7 separate regions of the Homo sapiens genome follow, and regions 2, 3, 4, 5, 6 and 7 are each linked to region 1. Evidence: promoter capture Hi-C in 16 types of primary human blood cells and fetal thymus (Javierre and others, 2016). All regions are on one chromosome and are shown on one strand. The core of a region is centred on a gene start or on the middle of the fragment in contact, and the rest is flanking DNA. Distances in the headings are between cores, read along the strand shown. Region 1 holds the start of IFNK (interferon kappa). Region 2 overlaps LOC124902135. Region 3 overlaps LOC124902135. Region 4 has its middle 130 kb from the start of C9orf72. Region 5 overlaps EQTN (equatorin). Region 6 overlaps LOC124902135. Region 7 has its middle 4.3 kb from the start of EQTN.

What was found. Contacts are between HindIII fragments. The CHiCAGO score rates a contact against its expected background, and 5 or more counts as called.
Region 2: a contact is called between a fragment that was not itself captured here and the fragment with the promoter of IFNK in region 1, in 2 of 17 cell types (neutrophils and monocytes). The highest score is 14.1, in neutrophils.
Region 3: a contact is called between a fragment that was not itself captured here and the fragment with the promoter of IFNK in region 1, in 1 of 17 cell types (neutrophils). The highest score is 6.9, in neutrophils.
Region 4: a fragment that was not itself captured here is called in contact with the fragment with the promoter of IFNK in region 1 in 1 of 17 cell types (neutrophils); the score reaches 8.3 in neutrophils.
Region 5: a fragment that was not itself captured here is called in contact with the fragment with the promoter of IFNK in region 1 in 5 of 17 cell types (total B cells, naive B cells, M1 macrophages and 2 more); the score reaches 9.0 in total B cells.
Region 6: a fragment that was not itself captured here is called in contact with the fragment with the promoter of IFNK in region 1 in 1 of 17 cell types (neutrophils); the score reaches 6.3 in neutrophils.
Region 7: a contact is called between a fragment that was not itself captured here and the fragment with the promoter of IFNK in region 1, in 8 of 17 cell types (monocytes, activated CD4 T cells, total B cells and 5 more). The highest score is 8.8, in monocytes.

What each region holds. Positions count from the first base shown.
Region 1 is chr9:27,522,920-27,526,005 of GRCh38, forward strand. IFNK (interferon kappa) reads left to right here and starts at 1,371. Exons shown (of 2, transcript NM_020124.3): 1 at 1,371-2,042. The coding sequence starts at 1,418. The coding sequence ends at 2,041. All of the region lies in intron 1 of MOB3B (MOB kinase activator 3B), which reads right to left. The HindIII fragment of the contact is 1,828 bases long and covers 847-2,674 here.
Region 2 is chr9:27,717,687-27,720,993 of GRCh38, forward strand. LOC124902135 reads left to right here. Exons shown (of 3, transcript XM_047424284.1): 2 at 3,232-3,307. Among named protein-coding and RNA genes, the nearest start is that of C9orf72, 150 kb to the left of the region's middle. The HindIII fragment of the contact is 1,949 bases long and covers 835-2,783 here.
Region 3 is chr9:27,756,444-27,759,950 of GRCh38, forward strand. All of the region lies in intron 2 of LOC124902135, which reads left to right. Among named protein-coding and RNA genes, the nearest start is that of C9orf72, 180 kb to the left of the region's middle. The HindIII fragment of the contact is 624 bases long and covers 1,281-1,904 here.
Region 4 is chr9:27,698,943-27,702,286 of GRCh38, forward strand. No RefSeq gene overlaps it. Among named protein-coding and RNA genes, the nearest start is that of C9orf72, 130 kb to the left of the region's middle. The HindIII fragment of the contact is 2,222 bases long and covers 300-2,521 here.
Region 5 is chr9:27,281,962-27,285,386 of GRCh38, forward strand. It overlaps EQTN (equatorin), which reads right to left. Exons shown (of 8, transcript NM_020641.3): 8 at 2,693-3,011. The coding sequence ends at 2,762. It also overlaps the pseudogene REXO6P. Among named protein-coding and RNA genes, the nearest start is that of EQTN, 13 kb to the right of the region's middle. The HindIII fragment of the contact is 7,253 bases long and covers 1-3,425 here.
Region 6 is chr9:27,737,297-27,740,442 of GRCh38, forward strand. The region is part of intron 2 of LOC124902135; the gene reads left to right. Among named protein-coding and RNA genes, the nearest start is that of C9orf72, 170 kb to the left of the region's middle. The HindIII fragment of the contact is 2,775 bases long and covers 341-3,115 here.
Region 7 is chr9:27,299,768-27,303,139 of GRCh38, forward strand. No RefSeq gene overlaps it. Among named protein-coding and RNA genes, the nearest start is that of EQTN, 4.3 kb to the left of the region's middle. The HindIII fragment of the contact is 3,881 bases long and covers 1-3,372 here.

The sequences.
Region 1 (3,086 bases), core at 121-2,620:
TATATATATTTTTTTCCGTAAGAAACCTTTCCTAAAAGCCAGGATTTTAAGAAATCCCACTTACCCACAATTAGCCTTTGGTGCAGTCAACTGATTTAGACAAGAACTTTTTAAGCCAACTTTTCAATCAAAGTCTGCCATGTTTGTGGAACTGTGGCTATTTACCATTTTACAATGACTTAATTGCAAATTAATGTATATCTTTTTTTTCTTGAGAAGATATAATAAGCTACCTTTTTAAAATGACAATCCATTTTATTTTCCTGGAGAAAAGAATCCATTTGCTTTAACCATAATCAGAGGAAGGTTATTTGGTCAAACAAAGTAAAAACCATAAACAATAGATAGCCATCATTACCACAGTAACATTGGTCCAGCTAGGAATTCACTTAGCTAAATGGGTGACTTCCTACTCACATACCTCCTCAGTGCACAACAAACACAGGAGCAAACAAAAGCCTTTACAGAATCCAGAACCACCAGGCAAGAAGATATAATAATCAAGCAATCAAGCAAAAGTTTAAAAATACTGCCTAAACTGCACCAAAAAAAAAAAAGAAAAGAAAAGAAAAGAAAATGATACTACAAGAGAGAAGTTAATGAGGCAGAAAGATATTCTCAAATATAAAACCCCCTCCAGGACTTTTAAGAAAGGTATCAGAGGCATATGGAAGGCTAAGTCCAGGATGGATTTAACTGAAGAAAAGGATATTTAGAGATTATCAACATTTTCTAATGCAACAGAAAACCAAGCCAACTTAGTCTCCTACTTAGTAAGTGCCAGCTCTATTCTTCATCTTTTTGGAGATCCAGAAAAATCAAAAAGAGAAAATATCCAAATATAGAAGCTTAATTTAACAAAATTGGAAAAACCTAAACTATACTGTGCTCTGGTGACCTAGCAATCAAATAATCACAGTCATTTGGTCAATGTCTATGATTAACTCAATGAGACAGGATGTTTGGCTATAGCACCAGGTACAAAAAATATATTTTCATGAAGGATCACTCCCTCTTATGTAATAGATTTGGGTGAGTGAGTGAGTGAGTGAGTGCATGGACTCACAGCTTTTGGCTTTCTGAAATACCCTGCATCAGTCTTGTTATGATGATTCCTTAGTGCTGGGATGGATCATCCAGGCATTTAAGGTAACACGATGGTAATTCTTTGCTCATTTTTCAGGGAAAAAAAAAAGTTATCACTTCCAAAGTCGGCATAGTCACCCGAAGTAAAAAAAAAAAAAAAAAAAAAGCCTCAGAGGCAAAGGAAAGGGGCCGCAACCTTGGTTAACTGTGAAATGACGAATGAGAAAACTCCTCCTGCTGAAGATATTCAGGTATATAAAGGCACATGAAGGAAAACTCAAAACATCATTGTCATATACACATCTTCTGGATTTTTTAGCTTGCAAAAAAAATGAGCACCAAACCTGATATGATTCAAAAGTGTTTGTGGCTTGAGATCCTTATGGGTATATTCATTGCTGGCACCCTATCCCTGGACTGTAACTTACTGAACGTTCACCTGAGAAGAGTCACCTGGCAAAATCTGAGACATCTGAGTAGTATGAGCAATTCATTTCCTGTAGAATGTCTACGAGAAAACATAGCTTTTGAGTTGCCCCAAGAGTTTCTGCAATACACCCAACCTATGAAGAGGGACATCAAGAAGGCCTTCTATGAAATGTCCCTACAGGCCTTCAACATCTTCAGCCAACACACCTTCAAATATTGGAAAGAGAGACACCTCAAACAAATCCAAATAGGACTTGATCAGCAAGCAGAGTACCTGAACCAATGCTTGGAGGAAGACAAGAATGAAAATGAAGACATGAAAGAAATGAAAGAGAATGAGATGAAACCCTCAGAAGCCAGGGTCCCCCAGCTGAGCAGCCTGGAACTGAGGAGATATTTCCACAGGATAGACAATTTCCTGAAAGAAAAGAAATACAGTGACTGTGCCTGGGAGATTGTCCGAGTGGAAATCAGAAGATGTTTGTATTACTTTTACAAATTTACAGCTCTATTCAGGAGGAAATAAGGTATATTTTTGGAATTAAAATTCCTTTTCCCTCCGAAATCTCTTTCTCCTTCTCCTCCTCCAACTTCTTTTTAAGGATTGTTGTGCTGTCCTGTAAGCCTGTCCTCAGTTGGACTGGTAGCCTCGGAACATCAGGGACACTCACCTCTCTAAGGAGAGGTAATGCCAACCATCCTCAGGGTGACCAAGAGTCTCCTTAGAAAGTCTTTAAGACATTTTTAAAGGAATAAGATTCCCTCTCCGTCTTCTTCTATTCTCTCTTGCTCTTTTCTGTGGCCATTTTGAAAGAGCTTTGCTATATATACCACCTGTGGACTTCACCAAGACAATGGCTAGAGGATAGGGAGCAGAGAATGTTGCAAAATGGTAACATTTCAATGACTTAACTGTTTTGCTGCCAAGGTTGCTTATCCTATGAAAATTCAGCACATTAAAAGAGCTTATACATGCTCCCTAGAGTCAATACTCTTGCATTTTCCCCCTCCTGCTCGGGGGGAAAAAGGTTGACATTTCTGGCCCATTTCCTTCTCAGCTTGGTTTGTTTGAATTGATGCTTGTGGAATAGTATTTCATTACTTTAAGAGTGAAGATCCATAGTGAAATTGGATGGATGGTTGAATTAGACGACCATTAAGCTTTCATTTAACCTTTGAGAGTCTGTGATTCTAATGTAGCACACTCTTCATTCCTGATGTATATTGTTTGATTCCTACATCTAAAGGCATGGAAAATGCTGTGGAAAAGTATGGTACAGAATCTGTCTTTTACTGTTTTTCATGTGCCTGAAATAAAATGTCCAGAGTCATAATATGGAACAATTTTACATTAGATTTTCCTAGTTAGAAGACTACATTCTGTGAGTTAATTTAACTAGCTATTCCAATAATACATAATACTTTAATATCTTTTATCTTTTTAAAAGTTACTTTGCAGCCAGACTACCTAGATTATTTACTTTTCTAGCACGGCCCTTCATCTATATTAATTCACCACCTAGCTGACATGGATTTTCTCTTCCTCTCGCACCTCTATCTACCCCATTTCA
Region 2 (3,307 bases), core at 559-3,058, 200 kb after region 1:
TTCAATCTAACCATAATCTGTCATTCCTTTGTTTTATTTTTCAGTTTATTCAGTGCTTGCATGAGGAAAAGAGGTGGCATTTATTGGGGATGCTAAAACAAGGAAGTGACAGTCTTGGCAAAGGTCAGTTGATGCAGGAGGCAGCCATCACCCATAGTGCATGGCAAAGGCCCTGTATGGCTGCTGCATCTCATTTTATTTTGAACAGGCTAAATCTCAGCATAAGACCACTCCAAAACAGACTCTTGACTCCCAGAGGGGGTCATCTGGTAGGCAGAGTTTTTGGTTTGCATCCATCTGGATGCTCAGTATTCCGGCCAAATAATGTATCTTGGTTTTGGCACTGTAAACGTTTAGATTTCCTCCTGATAAAAAGTGTCCAAGAGATTTAGATGCTTGGAGATGCTGCTCCTGGAACCCAACATGGGCCTGGATCAGTGGGAGATGCTGGTTTTGTAGTTTACCACAGCTGGAGGCCCCATTGTCCAGCCCACTTGAACCCTGTGGTCAACTCTGAGTGAGAAACAGAGACCAGGATCAGGTTTCACATACTTCAGAATATAAATTTTAGATTAAGTGTTCCCTCAGTCAACAGCCTTCCCTATTTGTATTGTCAGCAGCATGTAGACTTGTAAAGTTACAAGAGAAGATCAAGAACCATGTACCAGAGTTGAGATATTGCCATTAGGCTGATAAGAGATTTACTGGGTTTGGAATTAGAGGCCAATAACAAAGCAACAACAACTCAAGACTTCATAAAGTCTTAATTTGTTCTCAAGAGATTTAGGTATTAGGTGGATCAAAGAGCAAAGTTAGTTAAAGGATGCATCGTTAAGCTTCAATTCCTCCTCTATCTCAGGCAGGGTATTAGATTGGATGATGCAGACCTGCAGATGACTGGGAAAACCTGCTACCCAGGTTCTGGCAGATTCCCAGCTGACAGGTGGGAGTGTAATATAGAGTATCAGGCATGGTTATTTTAAGAGTTTGCATGGACAGACCACATTTGGGTTTAGGCACACTTAGGATAGAGGGCATGGGATTGTGCTCAAGAAGTGAAATAAAGTGACTTTCAGAGAAAGTTTTGCATTTAGGATCTCACTTTATAGCTCCATATGTCTCCTGCACTCCAGGTTTGCACACCCAGACCTCTTCACAGGTTGGTTAGGATAACCAATTCATCCCATTTTGCCTGGGATTTTCCTAGTTTTAGCACTGCAAGTCTGGCATCGTGGTAAACCTCTCAGTGCTGGGCAAGCTAGGATAGCTGGTCACTCTATAATGTGACATAAGAATGGTTGGTCATGAGATGTTTGTTGAGTGGATAGGGCACGTGGGTAAGTACTGCGACACCAGTGCAAGTGTCATGCAGAGGAAAAAACACATGCTTCAGCCTGAGGTAGACTTGGGTAAAAATTCTCATCCTGAATTCCTAACTGTGTAATCTTCAATAAGTTATTGATCTTCTCTGAGACATAATGTGTATAAAGTATCTGAGATAGAACATTAATATCAGCTGCTCAATTAATGGTAGGTGTTATTATATGACTTGAGACATAACAGTGATAATAAGGAGAAGATTGTAATCAGTTGCTCCTGATTCATACAGAGGTACACAGAGACATAGAAAAGTCTTGTATGAGACCAAGGACCCTTTTGAGGTCTTGATGTCTAGTGTAGTTTTATGACCTGAGTCTTGCTAGGGTATGTGGATTCAGAAGTATCTCTGTATTGCTTTTCATGCCACTGTGGAGACACTTGGGAGAAAAGAAAGCAGGATTCTCTCTACTCTTCCAATGTCATCCTTTGTGACATTTTGTTTTCTAGGGGTTCATGCCACCTAATGGTGAGCTACCATTTGGTGCTGTGTGGAAGGAAGGTGATTGGCTTATGCTACAGGGGACATAGTTTCACAGGCTTGGAGAATATCGGAGACTGGAGGGGTCTCGGAGTGTATCTAGGTCAATCCCTTCATTTTATGTGTGAGCAAACTGGGTAGGACTCAGGGAAATAAAGTGACTTGTCCAATATTATTCAATGAATTAGTGGCGAGCTAGGACCAGAATTGAGGTCTCTTGATAACTAGTGAGAATGTTCTCCATCATATGGGCAGCCTCTCCTCAGCCACATCTTCCTTTACCTTTGCTCTTGTTCATAGCAACTTATAGACTTGAACTGAAAGTCTAAGTTGAACTTCCTTTATCTTTGCTCTTGTTCATAACAACTTACAGACCAAACTGAATGTCTGAGTTGAACTTCCTTTATCTTTGCTCTTGTTGATAGCAACTTTTAGACTCAAAGTGAAGGTTAGCTTTCTATTTTTGCGTAACAACTTTCCACAAACTTAGTGGCTTAAAACATCACACATTTATTATCTTGGTTTTTGTGGGTCAAGAATTTTTGCACAGATTAGCTTGATCCTCTGCTCAGGGTCTCCCAAGGCTGCAATCAAGATGTTGAATGGAATGATCAAATCAGGCACATTATCATACCTATCACTTCAAATATTTACCATTTCTTTTTGGTGAGAACATCTAAAACCCTCCTTTTTAGGTATTTGAAATATATAATACATTTTTATTAACTATTCAAAACATCACGTTGTACCCCATAAACATATACAATTATTTGTTAATTAAAAATGAAATAAAATGTAAGAAATGATATAGGATGATGTCTGTTCCTTTCTGAAACTCAGGGCCCTCTTTCAAGTTCATGTGCTCGTTAGCTGAGTTCCTTGTGATTAGAGAACTAGGTCTTTTTCCTTCTTGTTGTCAGGTGGAAGCTTTTCTTAGGACGTAGAGGCCATTCACAGTTACTTACCATGTGGTCCTTTCACAACATGGCCACTTCTTCAAAGCCAGTGGGAGAATCTCTCCCTTCAGGAAGGGATCTGTCTCTCTTTTTAAAGGCTTTTACCTGATTAAGTCAGGCCTTCCTAAGATGATCTCCATTTTGATTAATTCATTATGGTCAAATGATTTGAGAACTTATTTACATCTGCAAAATCTCTTCACCTTTGCCAAAGAATATAACCTAATCATGATAATGATATTCTATCAAATTCACAGATTCTGCCCACACTCAAGATGAGAATTACACACAGAAGTTATATATACCAGTAGGCAGAAATCTTCAAGGCCATTTTAGAATTCTCCCTACCACAGATTTCTTAAGATATCATGGCTTAATACTCAAAGAATTAAGTGTTGCTGTTTTAATCATTTTCAGAATCCTTGAAGGAGAACTAGGATTACAGTTACTGTTCTTTAAGCTTAAAATGAGCTTCAATCAAGAGGAAGAAGGA
Region 3 (3,507 bases), core at 343-2,842, 230 kb after region 1:
ACTTCCACCCTCCTTTCCCCTGTTCCTCTAATGCGCCTCAAGTTGACTTGACCGTCTATTTTGCCTCGGGTATAAACTTATTTCCAGCTCCTGCACTGAAACCTGCTGAGCATTTATGCACAGAGCCACTGGCTGTGCAGCTGGAGCAATGGCCCGTGCTCACCGTCACCTCTCTTTGTTATGCTTGCTTCCAGTACATTCATCTTGTTGCTAGTTTTTGTTTCCCTGATCATTTGTGATTGCCTGTGTTCTGCCACTGTATGGCTACTCAGCCTTATTTTCCAGTGACAAGGATAGTCTCCTTTGGACAGTTAGGGACAAACAAATAAATAGCATGATTTATAGACCAAAGTGCCAAAGAGTGAAAAAACAAACCCTGAGTAATCTCCATAATACTAATCTAGACATACACTCACAAAGTCAGGAAATACAGAAGTTAAGTTGTCCATCTCAATGCTACACCTTGGAAGGAAAATTCTAAGTTGTTTTGGAGAAGATACAATAAAGCTGTGTCAACATGATAGCGAATCCATTTTGGCACATCTGCAATATGTGGGGCCAGCTGGTAAAAGGATGATGCCAATGAAGGACATCAGTCCAAATCTCGTGTAGACCTGTGTGTTTCTCTGATCAGGGATAACAGGCTTCCTCCTGAACTTTACTGCTCAGAAAGGAGCCGGTGTTGGGGATAGGTATGGGAAGGGATAAATCAGCATCAGTATTATGACAGTGAACACAAGCATAGTTAAGAATTTCAAGCTATATTCCTGATCAATATCATTTGGATATATCTCAAACCAGTTTTTTTTTCCTACTCAGTTGATTGGAGAATTCTGTCGAGAGTCAGTTTGTAGTTCCAAGCCTATCCTGTTGAACCACTCAGTCAGCAATTCAATTCAAAGAACATTTACTGAGTGTTCTCTGTTTGTAAGCCATCGGAGAGCAAAGGACCAGAATGTCTTATATTTCTATTTATTCTCAACCCTTAGAATAATGCTAGGCACACAGGTACTCCATAAATGTGTGATGAACATAACTGAACTACTACATGGAGAAGGAGGACTAATATATAATAAACACCCACTGGGTACCAGGCATGCTAGGCACTGAGGGATCAGTGACGAATGGAACTGCCTCTGCCCTGGGGAGCCTATACTCAATCAAGTCTTTCCTTGTGGATCTTACATGCAGATGATCTGGAAAATTAACCACTGAACTCAGACACTCTCAGGGCAGATTCAGAATTGCTCAAGTTCATGATTAATTAATGGCTTTAAAAAAGCTTACGGCACCTTTTTTGGCTATCCCTTTTTTGGGGGTGGTGGGGGAGGCGTATCCTTAATCTTCTGAAAGAAAGGAGAGTATACGTCTTCAGGATGGACCTAGATATGGCGTGGAACCTGAAACCTGCATCTCATGTTTTCTCTTTCCTTGATTAATAGTTGGTTTAGGTTGGTTCACAGTAAAAAACTCATCAGTCAAGCTGGGTACCTCTTAGGAAGTACTGGCTCCCTGCATTGAGGTTGACTGCTGGGAGCATCTCACCAAACACCATAGGTCATGCATGTAGACAATAGCTCTCAGGTCTAATTTCCTATCATCTTACTGAAAACAGAGCTCTTGTAGAAGACATCTGCGAAACTCTGACTAGTACCTTCTTGGAGCTACCACTAGCATCTGTACATCCCTCTCCTATAGAAGCTATCGTTGAACAGCAATAATTTATTGCTGTGTCTCCTTCACTTGGCTGTGAGCTCCTTGAGGATCCAGACTGCTGATAGCATAGGTGGCCCAGAATCACCTGTAGGCGGAGCTCAGAGCCATAATGCTAGAAGCTGAAGTTTTCCTTGGGAGAAAGCAAGCATGGAACTTTGATTTCCACTTTCTCTTTTTGGGTTGCTACAAGCTTAAAGGAAATTTCTATTTTAATCACATCTTTTGTGCTGCTAATTTGCTGAGATATGCCCAGGAGTTCTCCCTACTCTATCCTTTAAAAAAGTCGAACAGGAACCAGAGTAGGTCCTAGGAAAATCGTGTATGAAGAGAGGTTCATAGAAGGCCACCAGTTTTAGTGTCGGGGGCACCATTCATACAGAATATAATGTGAATTGTGTACCCTAGAGATGCTTCTGTGAACCCTTTCCTCATCCGTGGTCACTTCTGTGCAAAGGAGCAGCCAATTCTGCAGGCTAAGAGAAGGCATGGGAATTTAGAACCACAGCCTGTGCTGTGTTTGTTCCTCCCTGCAGGGTCTTTGAGTGGTGACTGTGCCTCAGGGCTCTGCAGTGGGGACAGTTAGCTGAAAGGATACAATCCAGCCACAATTTACCATCATTTCACTTACAATCATGTCTTAATCTCCTATTCATTTCAGCGTCTGCAGCATCCAGCACCCTGAACTTGGTAGGTATTCAACAGATGGTGGTTGAAGGAAGCTGCTGAATGACTGTAGTTTCTCCTATTTACCTCCTACATAGTGATGCATAAGGTGAATCTTAAGAGAGATCAGAAGGCTTAAGGACTAAGGATATGTGAAGATATTTGATGATCACTATTTGGCTTGATTTGATGATTTTGCTCTTAGGAATCCCATTTTGAGCACGCTAGAAAGAAGATAAACTTTAGAGTCAGTTTCAGATTCTGGCTTTCCTACTTATTAAATGTATGACCTTGGACAAGTTCTGAGCCACACTCTCCTCAAATGAAAAATGGCAATAATATTACCTACCATAGCTACTCAGTAGTTATTATTATGCTTATTATTATCTCCCTTCCTCCCTTCAAAACCTGGATCTTTGTCTTCCTTTGTGACCAACACCTAGTTACCTTTTCCTATTGTGTTTGACTGCTTTTCCACACATTGTTGGCAGGACCATGGCATGTCACTGAATTCCTAGCTCTTGTCCTGACATCCTGGTTTTGCACTGTCCAGTACAGTAGCCACTAACTAGATATAGCTGTTTAAATTTAAATTAATTACATAAAATTAAAATTTCAGTTCTTCGACCACCCTAGACCCACTTCAAGTGGTTAGTGGCTACCATATTGAACAGAACGGCTATAAAATGTATCCATTTTGCAGAAAGTTCTATAGGCCTATGGTGCTCTAGATATTGTTTATTTCTGACATCTGGACTGTCACAGATTAATTCCACCAGGAAATGAGATCTCAATCTGGGTACTGTGTTTTTCGATGGGTTTAAAACTTGGGGAGGGAAGCGAGGTCTTCGTATTGGGCTTTCTCAAACCCCAGCACATCTCTCTTATTTCCACATTTACTTCACATATTTTAGAAATGAACTTTTTAGGTTGGGAAATAATTATCAGAAAGTGAGTGGTTATGACCACCCAAAGCAGTCTTCTATACAACCATGACGGAGGATATGTATTTGGGGTGAAATGATTGTTTTCATTAAATGGACCAAAAGATGGCTTTTAAGCCTGTAATTCTCATGGTAATTGTCATGTTCTGTTGCTATGAATCTATACTCTCTTTAAACGGAATCT
Region 4 (3,344 bases), core at 161-2,660, 180 kb after region 1:
CCATTTATAAGGAACTGGTGTAAAAGATCCTGGCAGCTATTGCTGCTGGTAATCGGTTCCTTCTCCACTCGCCTGAAATTACTTTCAAGGTAGTTCATAAGCAGGTTTACAGTTATTTTATGGCTTGCTGTTTAATAGTGCTTTCCCAGTCTATATTTTGCTCAAGATATTTTACCTCACCAACAGGGCTTAATTTATTGGCTCTATTAGGCATGGACACAGAGTTAGAGAAAGGATTAAAATAGGTGTTTTCTCATTGTAGTAGGTAGATAGGTCCGACCAAATCTGCCAGGTTTTAAAGCTTGACTCTGTTAGTTTGCATTTGACAGGAATCAATTCTATATTTTTCTGAGGAAAAAAATGTGAATTAATTCTAGTACTTAACCAAGTGCCTGGTACACAGTTAGCAACCAGTGAACATTTGCTTATTGGCAATGCATTTTCAAGTTTATTGGTTGCCAACCCTGTACCAGGCTCCATGTCCTCCATTTATGTGATGGCCCATATTTTTATGATGAATGAATGACTCCACTCAAGGTTATTATTATCTATGGGGAAACATCTATAAACAAAACAATTAATGGTAAAACCAAGTAGAATAAAGTTTGACAGCTAAAACAAAAGTTTAGTTAAAACACTCAGGGGAGAAAGATTAATTCTCTCTTAAAGTAATAATGATAAGCCTCATGGAGAGGATTATTTCTGGGTCCCCATAAAGTATGCTACCAACTGTAGAGTGCTGCACTTGAGTGAAAATGTCATCTATCAGCTCCCTGTGACACCAGGACTAAAGCAAACATTTCATATTAGAGTTATCTATGTTTATTTTCCCAACGTCATGAAAGGTTGAACAGTTTTTCTGTTTCAGTCACAAGTCTCCACAGTTTTGAGTCTAAGTTTCAGCTGAGCTGTCCCAGATGCTCACAATGGTGGTCACTTTCTCCATAGAATAATGTGAATTGTTAAAAGAAAGAAAAAGAAGAAGGGATGTGGGTGAGTTGGGGGAAGAGAGCTGATACTGCCAAAGAACACTAAAATAACACTTAACAGTAGAACACTAGACACATATAGTAGAAAACAAATCAATTCAGAAAGATATTCTCATAAATCCTCTTTCTAGTGACAACTGGGGTTCTTTAAATGGAGAAAAATGAGGGACTGTTATGCAGCATTTGAAAAGAAGCTACAAATTAAGATTATGGATCAATTACTACTGATCTAATATCAAGTGAAATAAAGCCAGATTATAAAAATATACATGAAAAACAATAACAACTATGTTAAAACACATGCAACTTCATGTAGTAACATAGTGGAGCGAAGTACATAAACTTCATGATGACAATTGCTTTAGGATGGAAAGGCAATTGTTTCTTAAAAAACCGTTTGGACGGTGATCGTATTTTAACTATGAAAATGTAAACTTTATTTATTAAGTTGACGTTTAACAGAAAAGCCTTGCAGGGGATCAGATCCCCTTCAAGATTGCACCTGGGAGGCAGGAAAGGATTGTTTATTTAGCCTTAAGGATTTTGTCATAGATTGCAGAGGAATGCTTTAGCCCCTAACCATGCTGCTCTGCTCTGTTCCCATTTCATCTGCACTTGCAATACAAAAGTGTTTTCTGAGGGTGTTCTGAAACAGTTCTAGTCCGCTTAAGGTCACACAGATCAACCCTGGATCCATGTCTCAGTGGAGCAAAGTTGAGGGGGAAGGCAGACAAAGCTGACTGCTCATGGGGGCCCCACGTGGTTGAGACCCAGAGAGAGCTTAATCAGTGATGTGAACTGGCTGACGTGAGTTGCAGAGACACAAACTCACAACCAGAGTATCAATCAGCATTAGTGATCATTAGGGACATGGTCTGCTTAAAGTCAGCAATCTGAAAAGGCCAGACTGAGTTCTTATGATAGAAATGACGTATGTATAAAACATTCCCTTTTTGCTTTCAAATCAATTGGCCCTTTTATATTACATGGCACAACTCTCTAGAATCATAACTTACTTCTTGCCAAGACAGATTTCAAGTTCCTTCTTTGGGCAAAACTTTGACCCTTACTTTAGATCCCTTGGAGACACATTTCTATATGGAAGTCTTAGTCATATTGGTTCCAACAAGACTGAATATAGTGCTCGACACTTAATAAGTTCCCAGGAAATGTTTGTTAAATGGGATACAAAAGATTCCCAATTTCTTTCCTCTTGTCTTCACAGCAGCAGCATACTGTGTTCCTCTATCTGGAATGTGTCTGAAGTGGCTTGATGGCTTTGTCATGGGTGGGGGCACTTCCTCTCAGGGAAGTGCAGGCTTCACTCTTTTTGTCCTCTTCACTCTGTTCTGAACTTTTCTCTTCACACTGGATTTCTGTTTACTGCATGGCCTTTAGATATGATGCCACGGGGTGTCTCTGCGTTTTAGGCACCTAGCCTCCTTCTTCTCTTGGAGGGGACATTGGCACAATTTCATTTTTGAAGCAACTGGCATCTCAGATTATGCTTCAAGTCCCCTAACCCAATTTAAAGCTTTCTTTTTCTCATAGCTTTTCTAGATCAGTAGTGTGTGTGTTGCCTAGTCATCAAATCTAATAAGAGCAGACAGTTTTGTCTCTCCGATGGTTCCTGTGTAATAATTCCACATCCATGTGTCATCTAACACACACCGTTTTGTCAGGTTAGGAAAGTGAAATTCATGAGCTTAAAAAGAGAGGACATTGTCCGTGGAGTTGCAGCCATGACAGAGTTATGTGTCCTTAAAAAAGGGGCTATACAAAAGCTGCTTCACTGCACTAAAACTAACACATCCCATGTTATTGACTCCCTCGGAAGCAATGTCTAAAGACCACTGCTCCAGCTGGTAGAGACATCGGAGTCTTAACCACCGATTAGCACATTTCCTGGGTTGTGCGTTGTCCTTTGGCTGAACTCTCCAAATGCTGCACTTGCTGAGGTTGCTTTAGACTCAAGAGTGTCATAGCAGCACTTTTTGTTATTATTGCATTGGCTTCCTTGGGTTCAGATGTCACAGTGCAGTACCGATAAGTGAAAAATTAAGGAAGAACTAGCAAAAAAATAAAGCATATGTTGGAAGTCACAGCATAGCATAATTACCGTCAAGATATTAACTCTCTAAAAAGAGGACAATTCAAGCATTAAAAAGATGCTATGTTGGGATGTTGTATCACTTCTTGCCAGTATATAGTCGACTCTGATTTAAGATAAAGTACGTAAGTTCTATTTTCTAATGTACCTTCTAGAAGAATAGACCAGCAGTTAAAACTTCTCATTAATAAGTGCAACTTGTAACATAATAATAGATTTATAATACATGCTTAGTTGAATAGTAG
Region 5 (3,425 bases), core at 32-2,531, 240 kb before region 1:
CACTCCCCTTCCATCCCCCTCAAAATACCTTCACTGCACTTTACAAGGCAAACTATGCCAACGGTCTAAGGATGAGTAGCCCATTTAAAAATATATAGCTAACATATCTCTTTTGGCCATTTTAGATATTGTAGCCAGAGTAATGCTGTACTCAACTTTGTACAATGCTTTACTTTAGTACCAAAGACAAGTACTACTACTACTAGTACTACTACTACTTTTTACATGATTGAAAAGTGGCTCTTCCACCCCTTTCCAATCAGGAAAATTCTTGGTACCTCCTAAGGAGGGGTGGAGAGAAAACGTGGGAATAGTTGGTTATCAACCTCGCTCCAAGCCCACCTGATATTCTCATGTCCCTTTCTCACCTGTGGACTCAACACAACTCCTTTGCACCTGGAGCATCTCCAAGCAACTGCAATCACCTCCCTCACTTTTCCACCAGATCTGCAGGTGCCTGAACTGGCAGTACAAATGCTGGCACCGATCCCTGGAGCTGTCAAAAGGGCACAGAGAAATGGCAAAATAACCGGCAGAGAGTAGCATGGGCTGCTGCTCCAGGCCACCTCCACTGGCTCAGAAACTGTGAGCACTGTTGCCAGAGAGCAGGCAAAGGTGAGCGCCTGACCTACTGCCTTTTCCCTCAAAGGTGCCGTCTTTTATAGCCCATCACTATTCAAAGGCGGAGCTTCGTAGCTTTCCCAACCAATGGTGAGTGAGACTGGGCGGGAGTCTGCGGCGAAATTTGGGAGTGAAGGACTCTAACAATGGATAGTAGGGGAAGTGGCAGGTGAGAGTAAAATGTGTGTTTATTCTCGTGAGGAAGAAGAATTATAGATACCCAAGCTAAAGGAAAGGAAAACAGTTTCCCAAGAGCTGAAAGAACACCTGAGTTAAGGAACCTTATGTGTCTTGGGTGCTGGGCCTGTGTTGATCCTAAAGACTTTTGCTGCAAGTCTGACTATTCACCTTCATGGATCATGGAGAGAACCTCAGATTGGAAGCACATCACAGCAGGTGCTCTTAGGCAATTTATCTGATTTACCTGAACTTCTGTTTTCTGATCTGTAAAATAAACTCACCTTTCATAAGATAGTAGAATTTAATGTGATACAATGTTCTAAAGTGCCTATTATAAAGTAGGTACTCAGTAAATGAAAGCTATTGGTATGGTAAGAATTGAAGAGGGCAATGAAACATGCCCTAAGTTCTTCTCCCATATCCATACATATCCAGAAAAGACATGATGCATGTCGCTAAATCCCTCCACTTGAAACTAATTTCTTCTTTTTTTTTCTTTCTGAGATGGAGTTTTGCTCTCTCGCCCAGGCTGTAGTACAGTGGTGTGATCTCAGCTCTCTGCAACCTCTGCCTCCCGAGTTCAAGCAATTCTCCTGCCTCAGCCTGAGTAGCTAGGATTACAGGCGTGTGCCACTACACGTGGCTAATTTTTTTTATTTTTTTAGTAGAGACAGGGTTTCACCATGTTGGCCAGGCTGGTCTCAAACTCCTGACCTCGTGATCTGCTCACCTGGGCCTCCCAAAGTGCTGGGATTACAGGCATGAGCCACCGCGCCCAGCCGAAACTAATTTCTAAAAAGGAAACTTTATCCCTATTTTCTGTCTTTGTAAATTGAAATACTTTTGGTATGGATAGCCACAAAAGTCACTAATAAACTTGAATAAGTCTTTGAAAAGCATTGCTTTTCTTTCAGTGAAACATAATAATCCTGGATGCCTGGGGGAAGAGAGAAAGAAGGGCACTTCAGCTCTAAAAGACTCAAGGTCCATGAGTCCCCAGCTAGGAAATTACCTTCTGGAATTCCCCTCTTCCTCTCTCTTCTTCTGGAACACTGTGTTGTCTCAAACGATTATGGATACTTTAGAAATGGAAAAATATGGCCGGGTGCGGTGGCTCACACCTGTAATCCCAGCACTTCAGGAGGCCAAGGCAGGCGGATCATGAGGTCAAGAGATCAAGACCATCCTGGCCAACATGGTGAAACCCCATCTCTACTAAAAATACGAAAAGTAGCCGGGCGTGGTAACGTGTGCCTGTAATCCCAGCTACTCAGGAGGCTGAGGCAGGAGAATCGCTTGAGCCCGGGAGGCAGAGGTTGCAGTGAGCCGAGATCGCGCCACTGCACTCCAGCCTGGCGACAGAACGAGACTCCCTCTCAAAAAAAAAAAAAAAAAAAAGAAAAGAAAAGAAATGGAAAAGTATCTTTTCTTTCTTACCTTTTGTCATGTGAGAGCAACCCCTGACGACTTTTAAACAGTTCAAGAATGCTAAGAGTTCCTACCATTAATTTAGTTTCATCTCTTGATGGCACAACTGTTTTGTCAATAAAACATGAACAGGTGTGTTCTTTTTGCTTCAGCGGTGGTGAGGGGGCGCATAGGCAGTGGTGAGTTCCCTGATGTTCTCAAAATGCCCCTGGGGAAGGTAAATATCTAAATGTCCTTGTTTTAAAGTGAACCAGCCTAGAGAAAATATCTTTCAAAGTCACTCTCCAGGAATGTTTTTACTTGATGAGTTTCTCACACCTTAAATTATCTTCTTGTGTATTTTCCATTAAATTTTATAACCGAGAGATAATTTGTATTGAGTCTGTCCTCCTTTTAAGACACCAGAATGTTTGTCTCGGCAGTTTCAAACTCATGACATTAACAGAAGACATAAAGAAAGGTCTTTTGATGACAAAATAATTAAAGTTATTTATTCATCAATAAGATTTCTTCACCGGGTTCCTTGATTTCTTCACCGGGTAACCGACTCATCGTTTTCATGCATCTCATTATCTGAGCCTATGGAAATGATATCCGTCATTATCTTAGATTCTGATGTTCTTGTGCCTGATCTTCTCATATCTGAAGAAGTGGTACCCAAAAATGTGCTGCTCTCTGCACTCTTGGAAAAGGATGTATCTGAAACACCTTCTGATGGATGAAAGTAAGACATCGTGGCCAGCTCTGGGTTGACAGAGTACTGACTCTCACAACTTTTATAACTGAAGAAGAAAAGAACATATATCAAGAATTGTTTTTAATTGTGTACATTTGTAACTCAGCTTAGAAAAGCATTCAAAAATTAAAATATACGAATTTTGCCCAAAGTGTTAGTTACTTAGTAACATTATGTGAATGATATATAGTTTTTCTTTTCTTTTCCTTTTTTTTTTTTTTTTTTTTTTTTTTTTTGAGACAGAATCTCACTCTATCTCCAGGCTGGAGTGCAGTGGCGCAATCTCGGCTCACTGCAACCTCCGCCTCCCAGGGGCACGCGATTCTCCTGCCTCAGCCTCCCGAGTAGCTGGGACTACAGGCATGCGCCACTATGCCCAGCTAATTTTTGTATTTTTAGTAGAGACGGGGTTTCACCATGTTGGCCATGATGGTCTTGATTTCTTGACCTCGTGATCCAC
Region 6 (3,146 bases), core at 478-2,977, 210 kb after region 1:
AGTTTGATAGAAATAGCATTGAATCTGTAAATTGTTTTGGGCAGTATAGCCATTTTAATGATATTGATTCTTCCTTTCCATGAGCATGGGATATTTTTCTATTTGTGTCTTCTCTGATTTCTTTGAGTAGTGTTTTGTAATTCTCATTGTAGAGCTCTTTCAACTCTCTGGTTAGCTATATTCCTAGGTATTTTATTTTTGTGTGTGTGGCAATTGTGAATGGATTGCCTTTCTGATTTGGCTCTCTGGTTGGTTGTTGTTGGTGTATAGGAATGCTAGTAACTTTTGTACATTGATTTTGTATCCTGCAACTTTACTGTAGTTGTTTATCAGCTGAAGAAGCTTTTGAGCTAAGACTATCGGGCTTTTCAGATATTGAATCATGTCTGCAAACAGAGATAGTTTGACTTCCTGTCTTCCTACTTGGAGATTCTTTATTTCATTCTCTTGCCTGATTGCTCTTGTTAGGACTTCCAATATTATGTTGAATAGAAGTGGTGAGAGAGGGTATCCTTGTCTTGCTGGTTTTCAAGGGAATGCTTCCAGGTTTTGCCCACTCAGTATAATGTTGGCTTTGGGTTTGTCATAGATGACTCTTATTATTTTGAGGTATGTTCATTCAATACCTAGTTTACTGAGAGTTTTTAACATAAAGGAAAGCCTTTTCTGTATCTATTGAGAAAATCCTGTGGTTTTTGTCTTTAGTTCTGTTTATGTGATGAATCACATTTACTGATTTTCGTATGTTGAGACAACCTTGCATCCTGGGGATGAAGGCTACTTGATCATGGTGGATTAGCTTTTTGATGTGTTGCTGGATTTGGTTTGCAAGTCTTTAGTTGAGGATTTTTGCATCAATGTTTCTCAAGGATATTGGTCTAACGTTTTCTTGTGTGTTGTCTCTGCCAGGTTTTGGTGTTAATATCATGATGGCCTCATAGAATGAATTGGGGAGAAGTCCCTCCTCCTCATTTATTTATTTATTTATTTATTTATTTTTGGAATAGTTTCTGTAGGAATGGTACCAGACTTTCTTTGTATATCTGGTAGAGTTTGGCTGTGAATCCATCAGGTCCTGGCCTTTTTTTAGTTGATAGGCTATTTATTACTCATTCAATTTCAGAGTCATTATTGGTCTGTTCAGGGAATCAATTTTTTTCTGGCTCAGTCTTTGGAAGGTGTATGTGTCCAAAAATTTATCCATCACTTCTAAGTTTTCTAGTTTGTTTGTGTAGAGGTGTTCATAGTAATTTCTAATGGTTGTTTTTATTTCTGTGGGGCCAGTAGTAACATTCCCTTTTTCATTTCTATTTGTTTTTATTTGAATCTTCTCTCTTCTTAATTTGTCTAGCTTGTGGACTATCTATTTTATTAATTTTTTCTAAAAAACAATTCCTGGACTTACTGATCTTTTGAATTGTTTTTTGTGTCTCAATTTCCTTAAATTCAGCTCTGATTTTTGTTATTTCTTTTCTTCTGCTAGCTTTAGGGTTGGTTTGTTTTGCATTTCTAATTCTTCCAGTTGTGAAGTTAGGTTGTTAATCTGAGGTCTTTCTAACTTTTTTTTTTTTTTTTTTTGAGACGGAGTCTTGCTCTGTCGCCCAGGCTGGAGTGCAGTGGCGGGATCTCGGCTCACTGCAAGCTCCGCCTCCCGGGTTCACGCCATTCTCCTGCCTCAGCCTCCCAAGTAGCTGGGACTACAGGCACCCGCCACTATGCCCGGCTAATTTTTTGTATTTTTAGTAGAGACGGGGTTTCACCGTTTTAGCCGGGATGGTCTCGATCTCCTGACCTCGTGATCCGACCGCCTCGGCCTCCCAAAGTGCTGGGATTACAGGTGTGAGCCACCGCGCCCGGCCCTTTCTAACTTTTTGATGTGGGCATTTAGTGCTATGAATTTCCCTCTGAACACTGTCTTAGCTGTGTCCCAGAGATTCTGGCATGTTTTATCTTTGCTTCCATTATTTTCTAAGAACTTCTTGATTTCTGCCTCAATTTCATTCTTTACTCAAAAGTCATTTAGAAGCATGTTGTTTAATTTCCATGTAATTGTATGATTTTGAATGATTTTCATTGTGTTGACTACTATGTTTATTGTAGTCCAAGAGTGTATTTGATATGATTTTGGTTCTTTTACATTTGTTGAGGATTGTTTTATATCCAATTATGTGGTCAATTTTAGAGTATGTGCCATGTGGCAATGAGAATGTATATTCTGTTGTTTTGTTTTGGGTGGAGAGTTCTGTAAAGGTCTGTCAGAATATCATTGGACCATTTGGTCCAGTGCTGAGTTTAGGTCCTCAATATCTGTTAGTTTTCTGCCTTGATGATCTGTCTAATACTGCCACTGAAGTGTTGAAGTCTCCCACTATTATTGCATGGGAGTCTATGTCTCTATGTCTCTTGGTAGGTCTCTAAGAACTGGCTTTATGAATCTGGGTGCTCCTGTGTTGGGTGAATGTATATTTAGGATAGTTAGGTCTTGTTGAATTAAACCCTTTACCATTATGGAATGCCCTTCCTTGTCTTTGATTCTTGTTAGTTTTAAATCTGTTTTTTTTTTTTTTTTTCTGAAATTAGGATTGCAACCTTTGCTTTTTTCTGTTTTCCATTTGCTTGGTAGATTTTTCTCCATCCCTTTATTTTGATCCTGAGTGTCATTACATATGAGATGGGCCTCTTGAAGACAGCATACCATTGGGTCTTGCTTTTTTATCCAACTTGCCACTCTGTGCCTTTTAAGTGGGGACATTTAGCCCATTTGTCAAGGCATTTAGCTCATTTACCAGTTAGCTGTTAGTAACCAGCTAATAGCACAATGACAGGATCAAATCCATGCATATCAATACTAACCTTGATATCAATACAAACCTTGATACGTGTGGATTTGATCCTGTCATTGTGCTGTTAGCTGGTTACTACATTGGCTTGTTCATGTGGTTGCTTTGCAGTGACACTAGTCTGTGTGTTTAAGTGTGTTTTCATATTAGCTGGTAGCAGTCTTTCCTTTGTATGTTTAGTGCTCCTTTCAAGATCTCTTGTAAGACAGGTCTGGTGGTAATGAAGTCCCTCAACATTTGCTTATCTGAAAAGGATCTTATCTCTTCACTTAGGAAGCTTGGTTTGGTTGGATATGAAATTCTTGG
Region 7 (3,372 bases), core at 687-3,186, 220 kb before region 1:
TTAGTCAGCCAAAGGGAAGTGGTCCTGTGTAGAGCTGTTTTTCTTCCTTAGCTTATTCTCAAGTGAAAGCTGAGAAGCGAAAAAAAGAGATATGAGTAAAGAGCTGGCAGGCCTTGGGAGCCCTTTACTTTGTTATCTCTCTAACAGGGTGACACATAGAAAAGGAGAGAGACTTGAAGCAAGCATGCTCCATGTTGCTGCAAACCACCTTAGAGCTTTGAATGACATAGCTCAGCCCTGGTGAAACTCGGAAGAAGTTGTTCCAGGAGGAAGATGGCATCAATGGAATTTCCCCTGTCCCTGGCAATAAAGGGGAAGTCAGTGCTAGCTGGAGAAACATGTTTACTACTGTGTGCCCCAAAGCTGGCACACTGTGTGGCCCATAACAGGTGCTTGATGAATGAGGGAATAAAACACTTTATTTAGTTCAGGAAGCACTTAAGTGCCAAAAAGTCAACTTAGCATTTTCTAATGACATGAATGGAATTTTCTTTATCATATAGCTTCTCCACTGAGTCCTCCTATATTCAAAAGATTGTTAGTTTTTAATGTGACTAATGCTCTTCCTAGGTAATTGAATTGGTAGAGTACAGATATTGTAGGCTTTATAAAAAAAGCATTAGATTTAATGAAACTAAGTTTGTTTAAAAATTGACTTTAGGCCAGGTGTGGTGGTTTGTGCCTATAATCTCAGCACTTTGGGAGGTCAAGGTAGGGGGATCACTTGAGCCCAGGAGTTTGAGACTAGCCTGGGTAACATAGCGAGACCTATTGCTCCAAAAAAGAAAAAAAAAAAAATGATGTTAACCTTTCTTTGTCCTATGATCAGTATTCTTTTTAGAACATATTTTCAGAGGTGTTATGGGTTGAACTGTATGCCCCCAAATTTCACATGTTGAAGTGTTAATCCCCAGAACCTCAAAATGTGACCACGTTTGGAGATAGAGTTGTTGCAGATATAATTAGTTAAGAAGAGGTCATACTGGAGTAGGATGAAACCCCAACACAACATGACTGGTGTTTTTATGAAAAGGAGGAGAATTGGACACAGAGACACACAGAAAAAATACTATGTGGAGATGAAGGGAGAGATCAGGGAGGTACAGCAGAAGCCATGGAACATCAAAGATTGCCAGCAAACCACCAGAAGCTAGGAAAAAGGCATGGAACAGATTCTCCCTCATGCCCCTCAGGAGGAGCCAATCCTGCCAATATATTAATCTAGGACTTGTAACCTCGAGAACTGTGACACTATAAATTTGTTGTTTAAGCTACTCAGTTTGTGGTACTCGTTTCTGGTTACAGCAGCCCTAGCAAATGTATAGAATAGACAAATAGAAGAGATTATGCAAACTAAAATTGAACGTGTCCTCTCTGGAGGTTATAATTTTGGGCTGTAATGTAGCCCTTCCATAAATGTAGATGTTCTATAACACAATCTAGTATAAATTTTTCTTTAAAATAATCAAGTGTATATTATTTTCTCTACATAATGTCATATTTTAAGTCTTTAAAGAAGACCCTGAAAGGCATCTCTTGCTAATACCAAGAATGTCATTAAATATACTTTGTACTCTGTGACTTTATTTCCTGAATGATTTCATGTTTATTGACCACATCTGGATTACAAGCCCTTTCCCATTTCTGTGTCTTTTCTCTCAACAGCACTAAGCCTAGAGTAGGAGGCCATATATTTGGATATTAGCTCCATCACTTCTTAGCTGTATGATCATGGGCAAATCATCTCTTCTCTGACCCTGAACTTTCACTCATCTGAAAAATGGGAAAATTAAGTTTCACAGCCAGTACTATTTAAGACCCATTTATTGGGCTGAACTTGTTTACTTTACAGATTTATATACATAATTTTTCCTCAGGTCTAAAAGAATTAGATGTGGTGAGGTTTTCATATACCCATATTTTTTCAAGAGGCAGAGTACACCAGTATCCTATTGGGTAGGTCATATAAGTAGTATAGAGAATGAAGTTGAAGACATACACATACTAAGAAACAAGACAATTTTTTTTTTTTTTTTTTTTTTACACAAAGTCTCACTCTGTCGCCCAGGCAGGTGTACAGTGGTGCAATCTCGGCTCACTGCAACCTCTGCCTCCAGGGTTCAAGCAATTCTTGTGCCTCAGCCTCCCGAGTAGCTAGGATTATAGGCGCCCACCACCATGCCCAGCTAATTTTTGTATTTTTAGTAGAGACGGGGTTTCACCATTTTGGCCAGGCTGGTCTCAAATTCCTGACCTCAGGTGATCTGCCTGCCTCGGCCTCCCAAAGCACTAGGATCACAGGCATGAGCCACCGCATCCATAAATAACACAATTTTATATAATGGCCTAAAACATATTTTTAAAGAATATTAAGAATGTTAATTGAGTCATCCCAGTCTTCGAGAGAATTCATTAAATGGAGATAAATTCCACAAGGTATAAATTAGTTGTCACAGTCCATTAATATAAGCCCAAAAACTGTGCTTAAAAAATTAATTTGAATATTATTTTCCTTAAATCTGAGTAGTAAGTTTACATAGTGCATAAAAGAAAATAAATGATTAGCTACATCATTCAGAAGAATTGCCCTGCTGAGCCCTGCCTGAATTCATGACCCACAAAAGCATGAGATATGTTAAAGTGGGTATTGCTTTAAGTCGCCAAGTTTCAGCATACTTTGCAATGCAGCAATAAATAGCTGGAACACTTTGGAAACTTACATTCAGACAAATCACCTTCTGCCACATCCTTCCATCCTGGCAGCTCTCTACTCTGGATACACCTGACATCCTTGTTCTTCAATCCCTTAGATGTCTCACATTTCCTGACCTCTTCACTCACTCATCATCCAGCAGCCCCCATCTCTCTTTACTTTTTTAATATCCAACTCAGATTCGATGAGTATTATTCTAATTAAGAACTCACTACGGCCGGGCGCGGTGGCTCAAGCCTGTAATCCCAGCACTTAGAGAGGCCGAAGCGGGCGGATCGCAGGTCAGGAGATAGAGACCATCCTGGCTAACACAGTGAAATCCTGTCTCTACTAAAAATACAAAGAAAAAAAAAATTAGCCAGGCATGGTGGCGGGCGCCTGTAGTCCCAACTACTTGGGAGGCTGAGGCAGGAGAATGGCGTGAACTCGGGAGGCGGAGCTTGCAGTGAGCCGAGATCGCACCACTGCACTCCAGCCTGGGAGACAGAGCGAGACTCCGTCTCAAAACAAAACAAAACAAAACAAAACAAAACAAAACAAAACAAACGCATTGTGTAGTTCTAGGTACGGAGCAGCTAATTGTTCCTCTAGAGATATTTAGACAGAAACACAGACTGTGGCTTGCACACAAACAATCTCTATTGCTGCCTGACTTCCTC